Linked DNA regions of Homo sapiens: regions 2 and 3 are each linked to region 1. Evidence: promoter capture Hi-C in 16 types of primary human blood cells and fetal thymus (Javierre and others, 2016). All regions are on one chromosome and are shown on one strand. Each heading gives the region's core, a stretch centred on a gene start or on the middle of the fragment in contact. The rest is flanking DNA. Distances are from core to core; before and after follow the strand shown.

What was found. The method cuts DNA at HindIII sites, captures the fragments that hold promoters and counts their contacts. A CHiCAGO score of 5 or more calls a contact.
Region 2: a fragment that was not itself captured here is called in contact with the fragment with the promoter of USP53 in region 1 in 1 of 17 cell types (activated CD4 T cells); the score reaches 6.2 in activated CD4 T cells.
Region 3: a fragment that was not itself captured here is called in contact with the fragment with the promoter of USP53 in region 1 in 1 of 17 cell types (neutrophils); the score reaches 6.8 in neutrophils.

Annotation. Positions count from the first base shown.
Region 1 is chr4:119,209,454-119,213,962 of GRCh38, forward strand. USP53 (ubiquitin specific peptidase 53) reads left to right here and starts at 3,260. Exons shown (of 19, transcript NM_001371395.1): 1 at 3,260-3,420. It overlaps LOC101929762 (a long non-coding RNA gene), which reads right to left and starts at 3,191. Exons shown (of 3, transcript NR_125931.1): 1 at 3,074-3,191. RefSeq lists enhancers at 1-1,022, 2,178-2,752, 2,875-2,994, 3,326-3,899, 3,605-3,654 and a silencer at 3,125-3,254. The HindIII fragment of the contact is 14,070 bases long and covers 1-4,509 here.
Region 2 is chr4:118,708,041-118,712,549 of GRCh38, forward strand. METTL14 (methyltransferase 14, N6-adenosine-methyltransferase non-catalytic subunit) reads left to right here. Exons shown (of 11, transcript NM_020961.4): 11 at 1,958-4,509. The coding sequence ends at 2,262. Among named protein-coding and RNA genes, the nearest start is that of METTL14, 25 kb to the left of the region's middle. The HindIII fragment of the contact is 1,338 bases long and covers 1,324-2,661 here.
Region 3 is chr4:119,504,770-119,509,278 of GRCh38, forward strand. It overlaps PDE5A (phosphodiesterase 5A), which reads right to left. Exons shown (of 21, transcript NM_001083.4): 16 at 2,835-2,935; 17 at 1,086-1,163. Among named protein-coding and RNA genes, the nearest start is that of LINC01061, 96 kb to the left of the region's middle. The HindIII fragment of the contact is 584 bases long and covers 1,870-2,453 here.

The DNA of each region.
Region 1 (4,509 bases), core at 2,010-4,509:
CTTCCTCAATGCCTTCAAATACACTTGCTTATAATCCTTCCAAGCTGAAGTTCATATTTGATCTCCCACAGAAGCCCTCTCCAACTTTAGCCCACACAGATGACTCTATTCAAAAAAATCAACAAAACTTCCAATTTTTACTCCATCCAATAAACACTGCTTGTTAAGCATCTGTGCTAGGCACTGTGCTATGCCTTGGAAACATGAAAAAACAGAGAGCTTAGGTAGTAAGGAAATTCACTTGTCAGTCCTTATGGATGCATTTAGGAAAAAAAGGATTCTGTCTAGTATCTAACCCTGAGTCAGTCATTGATCTACTACTTCCCTATGCTATATTTCACTCTACCCCACCCAGCTCAGTCATGGTTAAGCTGTTGATTACCTCCTGGAACTACTGGGTTACAGCTCCGCAGGACACAATGTTGCTATTCCTACCAGACATTAGTGGCAGGGTGCATCTAGCCACAGGGTAGCACATTTCTCAAAGTCTGAGTTATAATCAATCCAGAATAACACTAAGAGGTGTGTATATGTGCTGGTGGTGTGAACTTTGGCTAAGCCTCAGCTGAATGATCTAGGGTATTCTTTGGCATGCCAAGCCTGCTCCCTTTCATGATCTCTTTGCCTGTGTGAGGTGCAGAGATTGGTCTTCACAAATTTGGGTCCAGCCAATCAGAAACTAGGGAATCAAACCCACACACGTCCCTCAAGGACAAATAGTAAGAATTAAAATATTTTAAATCCTTGTTGTGACTTTCCCAATTACAAATTTTCTGGGAGCAACAGCTGTCCTGCAATGTCAATTTTCCATTTTTTCATGTTTGCTTCAGACTCTGCCCTCTTGATGCTTAAATTGGGTCCTATTACAACTCTACCATTTAAGGATCGGTACATAGATATGCTAAAAACTGGTAGAAAGTATGAAATTATATAATTTTAAAAGTGTATAGTCAGGGTTTAGTCAAATTCTTGAGCAGGGTGAACTGAAGGGTATTCTTCTGTAATTGCTAAATAAGGAAGGGAGGTAGTATAAGCCATTATTATCCACAGTTCAAATTATTTCTCAAGGGTGGAGGTGGGGGTTACTCTGTCAGGTACATTTGCAGAGAAATAAATATAGTACAACATAATTGTTATAAAAATAAGTCCCAAAAGGGATGACAATTTTGTCTCAGAAAGTTATGAAAAGATCCATGGAGATAAGCATTCGAGAGAGAACCAAAGGATCTTGAGAGAACCAAGAACATAGAAAGCAAGGACTTTAGAAAGATTAATGTGGAGGAACTGGAGGAAGAATGGCGATGAGTTTAACAGTGTGATCATGAAAGGCCCTGCCGGTGGGTAATGAAAAATTCTTAGCAGAGAAGTATAATGATCGTATTTTCACGTTAGAAAAATTATTAATAGAATGGAGGTTGGACTGGTGTGGGAAATAACTAGAGGATATCTTGTGAATATTGCAATAGTACAAGGAAGATGAGTCATAAGAGATGGTGATTACTTGAAGGACTAAGACAGTGAGAGTGGAGGGGTGGACCTGAGAGATACTTAAGGAAATAAGAGTCAAAATTTGATATTAGAAAAGAGGAAATGAAGGAAAAGTAACAGGGGTACTCATAGATTTCTGACTTGGGCAGTTGCGTGTCATTTTCTGAAACAGGGAATGGAAATGGTGTAGGTTCCAGATGGGTGAAGAGGGACATGGCATCAGGAACAGATTATAGTAAAGATGTCCATGTCAATTTGGGACATATTTAAGATACTGTGTGAAATCCAAAGGATGTTGCTTAAAAATGTCCGACGTATAGATATACACCTGAGAGTTCTTGGTGCACAGGACACGTGGTAGGTAAATCCATGATGGGAAAGAGACTGCTCAAGGAGACATGGATTAACATTAAACAGAAACAGCAAAAGAAAATGGAGTGCTGGCGAACAGAGACCACGCAGCGGAAAAACAGTATTTAAAGTGCACCAGAAAAGTAGCTGCAGAATGAGGAGAAAATGACATTAGAGAAACGGAGGGAAGAGTTAATGGTGTGCTCTTATTGTTTTAAAAATGCAGAGTAGGATCTTTTTTTCCCCCACCCCTCCCAAAGTTTTTAATATTTTGAGGGCAGAAACCACGGCTTTATTTCATCCTATTTCTGACAGTGCCTAGTTCAGTAAAGGGAACATAGTAAATGCTCAATAAATTCTTAATGATTCAGCCTCAGACATTACAAACGGGTCCTATTTGTCTCCTGTATCAACGACCAATATTTCTTCCCCCTCTTTCTTCAAATAAACTTTTAGAAGTGCCTCTGGGTTTACTGAAATCCATTTTTACAATTAGTATGTTCAACTTACACCAGCTTTGGAATGAGTTCCAAAACCTTCTTTATTTACTTGAGAGATATTCGGTATCAGTGACGATGGGTTTTTCCTTTACTACTATTCCTAAGAAAGGTTTATTCAAAATCAAAGTTTAGCCCAATTCCCAGCAGTACCTTTTAACTTAAAACCTGTTCGAAAGCACGGCAAAGAGGCGGACAGACTTTTCTGACAATCATTAACCAGGTCAACAGACTTATTAAAGCTATCTAATTAAAGGCAAGAAACAACTGCTTGGGGAATACACATTCACGCCACAGGAAGCCATTTAACTGCAAATAGATCGTCTAACGACTCACGGAAATCTAAAGGAAACTGCGTGTCCGCATGGGGTTCTGATGCCAAACTACGGATTGTTCTCTCAGGTAACACCTAACCTAAGTGAAGTCCTTGGTGGATCCGCGTTCTTGAGCTTAGAAAATACCGAATGAACTACCAAGAGCACCAGAATAATCGCCTCCTCCTGAAGAACTAGCCTCTTTCTCACCACACCAGACAGCACGTCCTACAACCACCTTTCCCCCAACAACCAAACTCCAGCGCCAAGCTGCCGCTTTTGCAGAAATGTTCTATCTCTTGGTCTCGCGCGATCTCGCGCCTCCGAGGAAGCCAACTGTATCGCGCACGCCATCAAATCCCCGCGGGAATAGAATTCCGCAGGTCCAGAAAGCCGGGAAATCGCGAGCGGAGGCGGAGTTACCTCGGTGAGCGTGAAGGCGGAGCCCGCTCCGAGGGGCGGGCTCGAGGCGGGGAGAGGGGCGGGGCTCCAGGGACCTGTTGATCGCAGGTGTCACTGGCCTGACTGGTCCCTGGGTATTGGGGCGTATGCGCATGCTCCGCTCACAGGGTCGGGCTCTGGGCGGCGGAGACCAGCCGCCTGTGCTCCAGTTCCCGGTGAGCCTCGGTACTGTGGCAGCAGTCAGTGTGTCTGGCGGGTGTCGGCGTGAAGCGGGGCTGGGCCAGCGGGAGGTAGCTCTGTGGGAGTGGAAGGCCTGTATTTCTCTACCTGGACCGCACGCTCCTCGCGCAAGGAGGGTAGAGCTCAAGGTAAGTCTCCGAAACTAGCCCTCTGGTTGGAGATCCAGAGACCTGCGACCCCCGCGGGCCTGACCGGGACACTCTCATTCTAGCCCCAGAGCTCGTCTCTCCCCTCGCAGCCCGGCGACCTCCTATGGCCCCGGCCCTCTGGGCACACACACACTCTCTTTGCTGGGCGGTTCAGACGCCAGAGGTCACGCAGCCCTTTCGCCCCTTCTCGCCGCGTCTGGCGGAGATGCCTCTGGCCAGGCTGGAGGCGCTCGCGAGGCGGGAGGAGGTGCTGTACTTGTTGGGTCCTGGATGTTATTGCTGCCGTGTTTGAGGGCGGCGACAAGCTGGAGTCCTGCTGGGATTGTGAGTAATACCCTTACTTGGCTCCTGCCCCTGGCTGTCCAAGCCACATTGCCTCGCCTGAGCACACAGTTTTTTACTTAAAGGGGTCCAGGATGGTTATGCTCCCTCCTTGGAGAAGAGAGATGACTGGACTCGTGAGATTCTTGGGGTGGTGGTTTCTCAGTGGTAGTGGTGATGTATATAAAGTTAATGTTTAGCTTCTAAAGGGCGGCTTACGGGGCATTTACCAAACTATTTTTAAACAGTGTTGGAGAACAGGAAGTACTTGCACAGGTGTAATAGGGAGGGTTTCTAAAACCTGCAATCTGAGGATGTTTTGAGGTTTGTAACCCTGCTACAAGGTTTTCTTTATCAATGCAAAGTATGCAGGGAATTACCAGTTGGACAGCAAAGTTTTCCGAAAGTTTCCTTATCTGGAAATAGATATATATATATATATATATGTGTGTGTGTGTATGTATGTATGTATAAATATATATATTTGCAAAGAATATCTAAGGCTATTTTTGAGGTAGGTTTAATAGTAAACTTAACCTGTAGTCCCAGCTACTCGGGAGGCTGAGGCAGGAGAATTGCTTGAACCGGAGGTTGCAGTGAGCCGAGATCGCGCCACTGCATTCCAGCAGGGGCGACAGAGCCAGACTCCGTCTCCAAAAAACAAACAAACAAACAAAAAAACGCAGTACACTTAGGAAGGTTTTTGTGATTAAGATCTGATTCACTTTTAGTTATTAAAAGAAAAGG
Region 2 (4,509 bases), core at 743-3,242, 500 kb before region 1:
GTCTCGAACTCCTGACCCCAAGTGATCGCCCGCCTTGGCCTCCAAATTGCTGGGATTACAAGTGTGAGCCACCACACACCCAAGCCAGACTATTTTAAACTTACTCTGTTCTTAGTAATACCTTTAGAATTTCTGATAAAACACAATGTTGCTGTGCAGAATTTGGAAGAGAGGGGAATCCCTTGGACTTCTATAGCCAGTTTACTCTGCAAGGATTTCCATGTTTTACGTAAGAGACAGTATAGCAAGGGAGACAGAGTATTAGTTATTTTTATTATATCTTTAAATTTTCTGTTTCTTATTCCTTGTTTGTGGTGTTGTGTTCCACATATATTGAATATTATCTTCCATAATACCACAAACATGCCAAAAAACAAACTAGAAGGCAGCAAATAAAAATCTCATAGGTTTAATAGTCAGTGAGAGCCCATAGGTGTGGAATGTGCTCTTGATCATGGTATCTGCCAGGTAATACATAAAAGACACAGTATAATTAACCTTTTTTTCTTCAACTATTACAAATCTTACTGTATTCATGCACTTTTAGAAACTAAAAATGTTTTAAAAAACAATGAACTAAGTATTGTACAGAAATGGCTACTGTATTTTAGAATGTGATCCTAGTGAAATATTTTTCATTTTATAGCTTTTTATGATGCATCTACTTTTCTAAGAAATAACCTAAGGATGATGGGGCAGATATATTATAAACCTAACTTTGCAGATAAATAACCTAATTCTTACAGATAATTGGACCTGTCCCAAATAATGCTGTGTCTCTTATAATGCTCCAGAGGCATATTTTCAGGGTCCCCTACAAAGGGCATGTCTGTAAGAGTCACCACACCCAAAGAACCCCAGAGCACCGTGTCTGTATTGGGTATTTGTAGTTCCTTCCATTCTAAAGACAGTTTAATCAATCAGAAAATATCCTTATTACAAGAAAAGTTGTCTAGCAATATAATTGGCAAAATAGCTGTTTACCTACAGAAGTATAATGTGCAGTGGAAATTCTGAGAAAGAAGAAATAATTTTCATTTCATGTAAGAAATATATTTGAATTGGATGTTGAAGGGTGGGATTTTTAACAGGTTGACAGGATAGAAAAGAAAATAATATGGGCACAAAAATCGGGGTTAGTATAGAAGCAGTTACTATAGTAGTTCATTGTTTTCCTTAGAGGTTCATGAAAAGCATTAATGAGAAATGTTATTGGAAAGTTCATTCAGCCATCATTGTAAAAGATCTTAGATTTTATATTTATGAATTTGGGCTTTGTGGAAACAGTTGGAAGGTTTTTGAGCAGAGAAGTGACATGTTTTAAGCTTTGCTTTAGGCTTTCCACTTTTAGAGGGAGGAGAAGCTATAGGTTGGGAGATCATTACAGTATATATGTGTGTCTGTTACACATGTGTTATATGGTAGGGTATTGACCTTGTAAAAAAAAATAAAGGCTTAAATTTGAGGGTGGCAGCAGAAATGGAAAGATAGGAATGAGTGGGAGTAACATGGTAGTGGTTGAATTTCTCAGACCTATCAACTGAGAATATTTTCTAGTTAGCAAGTGTAGAGCAAAAGTTGGTTCCAAGATTTTAATCAGAAAATGGCACCATTTACATAAATAGGAAGATTATATATAATTTATTACAGTTTCACTAAACCCAAACTCAGTGTAATGTATGGGATTTTTTTTCTCTAAGTTCTATTCTCACAAAAGATAGTACGTGGATGAGGAGGATATATTACAAAAGTTACAATCTAGGAGGAGAAACAAGATATATACCTGTGAAATCTTTAAAACATGACCACAATTAAGTGCCATTCTGTAAAAGAGATCAGTATTGGATGAATGATGGGGACATCTTTAAGAATGCATTGGGGATTTGAACTAGCTTCTAAAGAATTAATAAGAGAGAATTGCAAATAAAAAGTATAATCTTTTTTTCCTCCATTTCAGGCTGGCTCACAGTTGGACCAACGCTTACAAATAGCAACTACAATGCAGAAACATATGCATCCTATTTCAGTGCTCCTAATTCCTACTTGACTGGTTGTACAGAAGAAATTGAGAGACTTCGACCAAAATCGCCTCCTCCCAAATCTAAATCTGACCGAGGAGGTGGAGCTCCCAGAGGTGGAGGAAGAGGTGGAACTTCTGCTGGCCGTGGACGAGAAAGAAATAGATCTAACTTCCGAGGAGAAAGAGGTGGCTTTAGAGGGGGCCGTGGAGGAGCACACAGAGGTGGCTTTCCACCTCGATAATTGTTGAAGACATTGAACCTATTCATCCTCCTCTAACCTTCTTTATTGTAATTAAATTTCAAGTGGGAGACTTAACTTTAGAACTCACTTCCAGCTTGCACTTTGCTTTAATTTCTCTGAGCTGCAAGAATGTCTTAGCGAGCCTTGCTTGCAGTTGTCACACACACTGTCTGGTTTTTTTCAGGATAAATGAATGATTCTGCCTTTTGTTATGTGCGTGAACAGAATGGAACAACTCAAGTAGCTTCATCTTCAGAGACTGAATTTATTCTGATAGACTTCAGCTAATTACAAAGGATTTTGCTAATTTTTGGGAATAAATAATGGAAAAAGATCCAGTCTGTGGTATCATGCTAGTGCTGACAGGGCCTTGATAGAATAGAGTTGGAAAAGATGGTAAGCTTTTGTCAGGGTTTTAACATTTTCTTGATGAAACAATAAAAAGAGGTAAGCTTTTTTCTTCTTTTTTTTTAAGTTTTAAATAAACTCAGATATAATTTGAATACTGAAGAAATTAAGAGACTTTGAACAAAAACTCTTCCCAAATCTAAATTTGATAGGGGAGGTGGAGATTCCAGGGGTGGGTGAAAGAAGAGATAGAACTTAGCAGGCAGACTTAAAAAAAAAAAAAAAGTTTATCATCATAATCTCAATTTTGTGGCTATGACTCCTAATCACGCTTCCTAAGAAGCAAAGGAGGACAAATATTCATGTGCTAGATAGCACTGTGGTGTGGACTTGAACTTGGATTGACCTTAAATTTTATATTCCTCAAATAAAAGAGAGGCAGCGACAAGATACCTCATTATCAGATGCTTGGTTTATACATTTTGGGACTAAAATACTTGGTGATGAAATGACATACACCTTTAAACTTGTTATGGAGATAGTTTAATGTAAAACCAACTACGGAAAACCCTCAACTTAAGGATACAGCTTGGAAATTGGAACTGCAATTGCCTTTTATTAAAACCATATGGTGTGATGTTTGTTTTTAAAATTATATAAGACTTTATGCTGTCACTTCTCTTGCTGTACTGTAATTCATGTTTTAAATGAATTTGATAATGAAATTATACTATTATCATTCTTGATGAATACTTTTCTTATTTTTATGATTTTTCTAATGAAACTTTAAACTTTTGAGATTTGAGAGTCTGTTTTCTATAAGTAGAATTACTGTTGTTACAAAATGAAAAAGGACTGACCTAAAATCAGTCTCTTCTTTTGGTCTGTGATGGATTTTAATGGCCGTTCTGTGCTCATATATACCTAAGATGAGATTATATTACATCCACCAAAGACTCAGTTTGAAGATAAGGAATGAGTGATAGAAGAAATAAGGCTGAGATCCTTAAAAGCCTAATTAATTTAACTCGCTTAACCCATTAGTACTATCTAGTACAAGACCCCTTTTTTTTTGCTGAAATTATGGTATATTTTCAACTTCACTAATTACAAATTATCTAGATTTAGAACTCTATATGTCAGCATTGACCTGGGAATGAAGTCAGGATAGAGAAATTCCACTTGCCTGTGATGGGTCCTTAGAAGTATCAGCTAAGGAGTGACCCTGTCCTATACACAGGGCTCTCTATTACGTTCCATACCCTGGGCCTACCCAAGGTGACATTCCTGCTGTTTACATGGCATAGGCACCTGTGAGATCAGTGTCACAATTTCATCTTAGAAAGAGGTAGGTATGGCTGCTTTGTCGGTTGAAAGTTAAGGGGAGCCATGATCTACCATATTTAGGAAAAAGTTATTTAAAAAAGAGCAGATGGTGGAAAAAGAATGTAAGACCCAGAATTTATCCCTTTGACAATGAATCTGGCCTTTTTAATAGCAGGATGGAATTGATTCACTAGTTTTTGCTAACTTTCACTTTCAGTAAAGGTTGAGGTGTTGTTTTTGCAATGACTGTGTATTCATTGAGGAAAGGTTTCCAATGAAATTTCATTACTCTGACCTCTTCTAATTTTTGGTCTTCTTTATATTTACATGTCTTACATTCCACAAAATTATTTAGAAATGCTGGGCATGGTGGCTCATGCCTGTAATCCCAGCACTTTGTGAGGCCGATGTGGGTGGATCACTTGAGGTCAGGAGTTTGAGACCAGCCTGACCAATATGGAGAAATCCCATCTCTACTAAAAATACAAAATTAGCTGGGCGTGGTGGCATGTGCACGCCTGTAATCCCCGCTACTCGGGAGGCTGTGGCAGGAGAATTGCCTGAACCCAGGAG
Region 3 (4,509 bases), core at 912-3,411, 290 kb after region 1:
GATAACAGAGCATCATTGTTTCAGTTTCCCTTTGAACTTTTGGAATTTGTCCTCAAACTGCCTCATTTAGCTCCAGATTGGCAGACTGAAAAATTATTAACCTTGGGTAAAATCTTGCCTGCTTTTATTATTTTTGTCACCTTAGTATTCCATTCTCAGCGACAGTATGATGAAAGTACATTGATTACTAATAACCATTAAAGTACAACATCAGGTATCATACTGATAAAAGTCTTATATCAGAAATTATAGTAGGTCATCCTAATTCACTCAACACACATGGTAACTTCTAAATGAAAAGCCTTTGAATGATTAATCATGTTTTTCAGCTTTCTCCTTTATTGTTTCTGCATGTTGAATTATAGTTAGGAAAGTTTTCTCACTCCTAGGTTATAGAAGAATCCATCTATATTTTTATTTAATGCTTGTATGATTTAATTCTCTACATTGAACTCTATGCTTCAGTTGGAATTTAAGTCTGTAGAGTAGATCCAATTTTGTCTTTTTCCATTTGGTTATCCACTTATCTCTCTCTTTCCTCCAGTCACTGGAAATGTTATCTTTATTATACACTATATGTCTTATGCAGTTCTAGATTTTCAGCTGTGTTCCACTGGTCTGCCACCAATATCAAACTGTTTTAATCATAGAGACTTAATAGTATTCCTTCCATGTCTGGACCCTGACCTCACTGCTCTACCTTTTCAGATTTTCTTTAAGAGAAGTAAACATTTTGCAGCTATATCTTACTTCCACAACATTTATAATTCCATTTTCAGCACTTCCATTACAATGAATTAGGAAAATGAATAAGGGAAACCTATAGCCATATATTGATACTCTACCACATTTTAAAGGTTTTTCTAGAACAAAGGAACAGTTCATTCACTTGGATTTGCAAATGCATTTCTTTTCAAGTAAATATTCAAATTTACTCTTTGTACAACCCTCTGGAGAAATCTGACCGCTTTTAAGATCATCATATTGTAACAAATAATTGCAATAAAAACTAACAGTGAGGAAAAAATAGTGAGAAAATTAACTGGGTAAAAAACTTCAGCTTTAAAGATAGTAAACCTACTTACAAAAACAACTCCTTTTGATGAGGATCTTCCAAATTGAATTGATTTTTTCTTATAAGTTCAAAAAATTCTCCTCGCCTCCTACAATGTTTAAAAAAAAATTGTTAGTTATAATGAGTACCCAGGGTCTTATCCCTTTGGTCCACAAAGACTCATGGACTAAATTTTGGTGAAAAAAAACCTCTGATTTTTTTTCCCATCTTAGAGCCCACTATAAAATCATCATTTACAAATCTTTAATACCTCACTTTCCCCCTTCTATCATTTGCTTTCGATAAAACATTAAACCTCACCTAATTTTTAACTATAGATCACAAATTATGGTAATTTCAATTCTTGAATATTTGTTATTTTAAGAAAAATGAAACAGTATGAGTTAAAAATTTGATGCTGAGAATGATTTCAGGTATTTTAAGTGCATGGCATAATAAGATCTATAGGTTTCAGTTTATCATTTATTTCATGGTAGGGGATAAAAATATCTAAAGTTGTGAAGTGCTTCTGAAGTAAACAAAGACTAGGTAAAGTTTAAAATAAAATAATATTTGTTATTATTCAGTGAATATAATAATATTTGGTGTACAGTGAATACCTCTTTATGTGCCCAGTATTGTTAAGCATTTTGAGAAGGCATAAGACAAAAATTTTTCTTTTCGCAGTGTTTAATATCTACCTGGAGACACAAGACTCAAGAAAAACTTACGTAATAAAACTGATAGTATATGGTTATAAAAAATGAAAAGTATGTTTCATAAGGGTTCAAAGGAGAGACCCATGTGGCCTGTAAAGCTTAGAAAGGCATTGTGGTTACAGGTATTTTTCAAATTCTTGGTAATTTGATAATCCTTATTCTGCAATTATTTTTAATAAACTGAAGTTTACTATTAATATATATTATTTTGTCTTAACCTCAAAATGCTCTAAAAACCAATTAAGTAGGCACATGCAGTTACTTCTAGATGTATAACAGTAGATATCTGGCAGATGTTTTTGTGTTTTTTCTATGTGTTTTTACTTCTCCTAAGAGTAACTACAACCATGAATGTGAATTCCTTACAGAGGGAGAGAGACTCATGTTACAAGGAAATCCTGAGAGTGATTCCCTGACTCCCCTCATTCCCACACATGCGTCAAAGATCTCAGCTAGGAGTTGGAAACTTATGATTGCTCAAATGCAGGAAAGTATTTTCTAGCTTTTAGAAAGGCAGTTTAATCATGAAAATGCATAATCACAGAGACAACTCTAATGTATACTCTTATTTTAGAATCAACAACTTCAAAGTTCTACATAAATATTCTTCTCCTGCCAAAATCAAATAAAAAGAAACAAGAGTTACTTGCTTGGCAGTAACTCCTTTTCCTGCCCAACTAAGCTTGAATGACGGTATAAAGGAGTCATGAAATGGTCAGAAGTTGTGGGGAGCAAGGGAAAGGAGGAAAAGCAAATGATCTATATAATCTTTGGACAACATGGCTTGGAATGACTGACCTTGAGATGGCTATTAGATTTGTATATAGTTTCAGAGACACAGTGGTAGATAAACATCAGAAATAATAGGTATTCTTAATTTTCAGCAGTATAAGCCAAAGGAGTAGACTTTTCTGGCTACCCTTTCAGAAACTGCTCCGTATTCTGATAAGCAGTTTTGCCAGGACATTTCTGCTTTGAAATTTCTCAATATGGATGTCAAAAGTTTGAAACAATGAAAAGACTTCAAATACCTATTTCTCAGGTTATTTCTTAAAACTTACTTAATGTACAGTGCTAGGTCTGTAGCTAAAATAGCTTGCTTGATTATTTTCAACGTGGTCTTATATTCTTCAATGGAGAGGCCACTGAGAATCTGATTGCCCTTTATAAAAAAAGAAAACCAGTATTAACATCCTGGAGAAGCTGCTGACAAGAACAAAATCTAGAAATATATTCACATATCTTAAACACATGCCCAGTATTCTAATGAATGTGGAGGACACACTTAAATACCATGAAATAAAGTTTCCCCTCTATGTTCCCACCCAACCCCTCTGTCATACATGTAAACCGCTTCATAATGCTTCATCTGCCTACATATGCATGTTTTTCCAACTCTTATACTCCTTAAGCCTTAGTCCAGACTTAAAATCTAATAGCTATCCTTTTCCGTAGGGCAGACTAATCGCTATAATTTAACAGCATGTAAAACTTTGAAAAAAAAGCCATATTAATGGATATGAAGAAAGAAGTGGTAAAATTTTTAAACTTCTCTATGGCATTTTAAATAAATCCAGTAACATTTCTGGTGCAAATTTATATAATTTTAACTTGGTCAGTTATGATAACAGTGCATATTCCTTAGGAACATCTTAATATAGATGGGTAAAGGGCATGAGCCAAAGGGTGCTTACTGGTCAGTGGTGAAAGAAAGCGTGGGTTGAAACATCTATAAGGAATATTTAAAAGGTAGCTAATCCATGTGCAAATCATTCAAAGTTTTCACTATGTAACCATTTTTTATTTCTTATCTGTAATTTAAAGCATAGTGGTTCTCTAATCTTGAACTAAGTAAAATACACAGACCATGCACTCAGAATACAATCAAAACAACATCTGTAAGTTGAGTCAGATGTGCTTCCTATATCTTAGGGCCAAGAAAAAACCCAGACGCTTAGGAATGAGATCTGAAGGCAAGGGATTTGTTATGAAGACAGGAGAACTTCTGGGTATGTTAGGCTGGGGCCAAAACACATTGATTAAAGGATAACTAGATGCTGAAATTGTGGCATGGATCTAATTAATGACAATAATCTATAATTACAACCATAAACATTATTTTTAAATACTAAATCATTTTAGATTCTAGGCTAAACAGAAAACTATTCAGAAAATACCTTCTGATACTTACTTTAAGATAAAACAATTTCAAGTGGAAGATGAAATGTCTTTTGGTGCTATATTTTTATTTTTTACTCTCAAAAGCTGAGGATATAATTTCTTGTGTAATTATGCTTACAAAGATAGAATATATAGATAGGTCTTATAATTTGAGCCAGCCATATAGATAATCAGATTCCTTATATATTAAGTAACAACATATTACATAATAAGTTATATAGTAACAGGTCAGTTGATAGGAATACTGTAAAATATGCTTTTAAAAAAGCATATTTTCTTTCTTTGGAGCTAAATTTGTAGTGGGATACTGAAATGAAAGTTTTAGTGGAAACACACAGATAGCAAAAGTACAGATGTTCCTACTATAACATGACATATACATTCCTGAGAAATTTCAGTTCTGAAAAACCGTACACTAAAAATAACATGGATTTTGTGAAAAAATGGTATTGGGAAAGACCACTCAAAACCTATGCAACTTTGTAACCAGAGCACAAACTAAACCAAGAATTGGTTCCTCTGGAAGTAACTTGGACAGGCCAGTCTGGCAGGTCT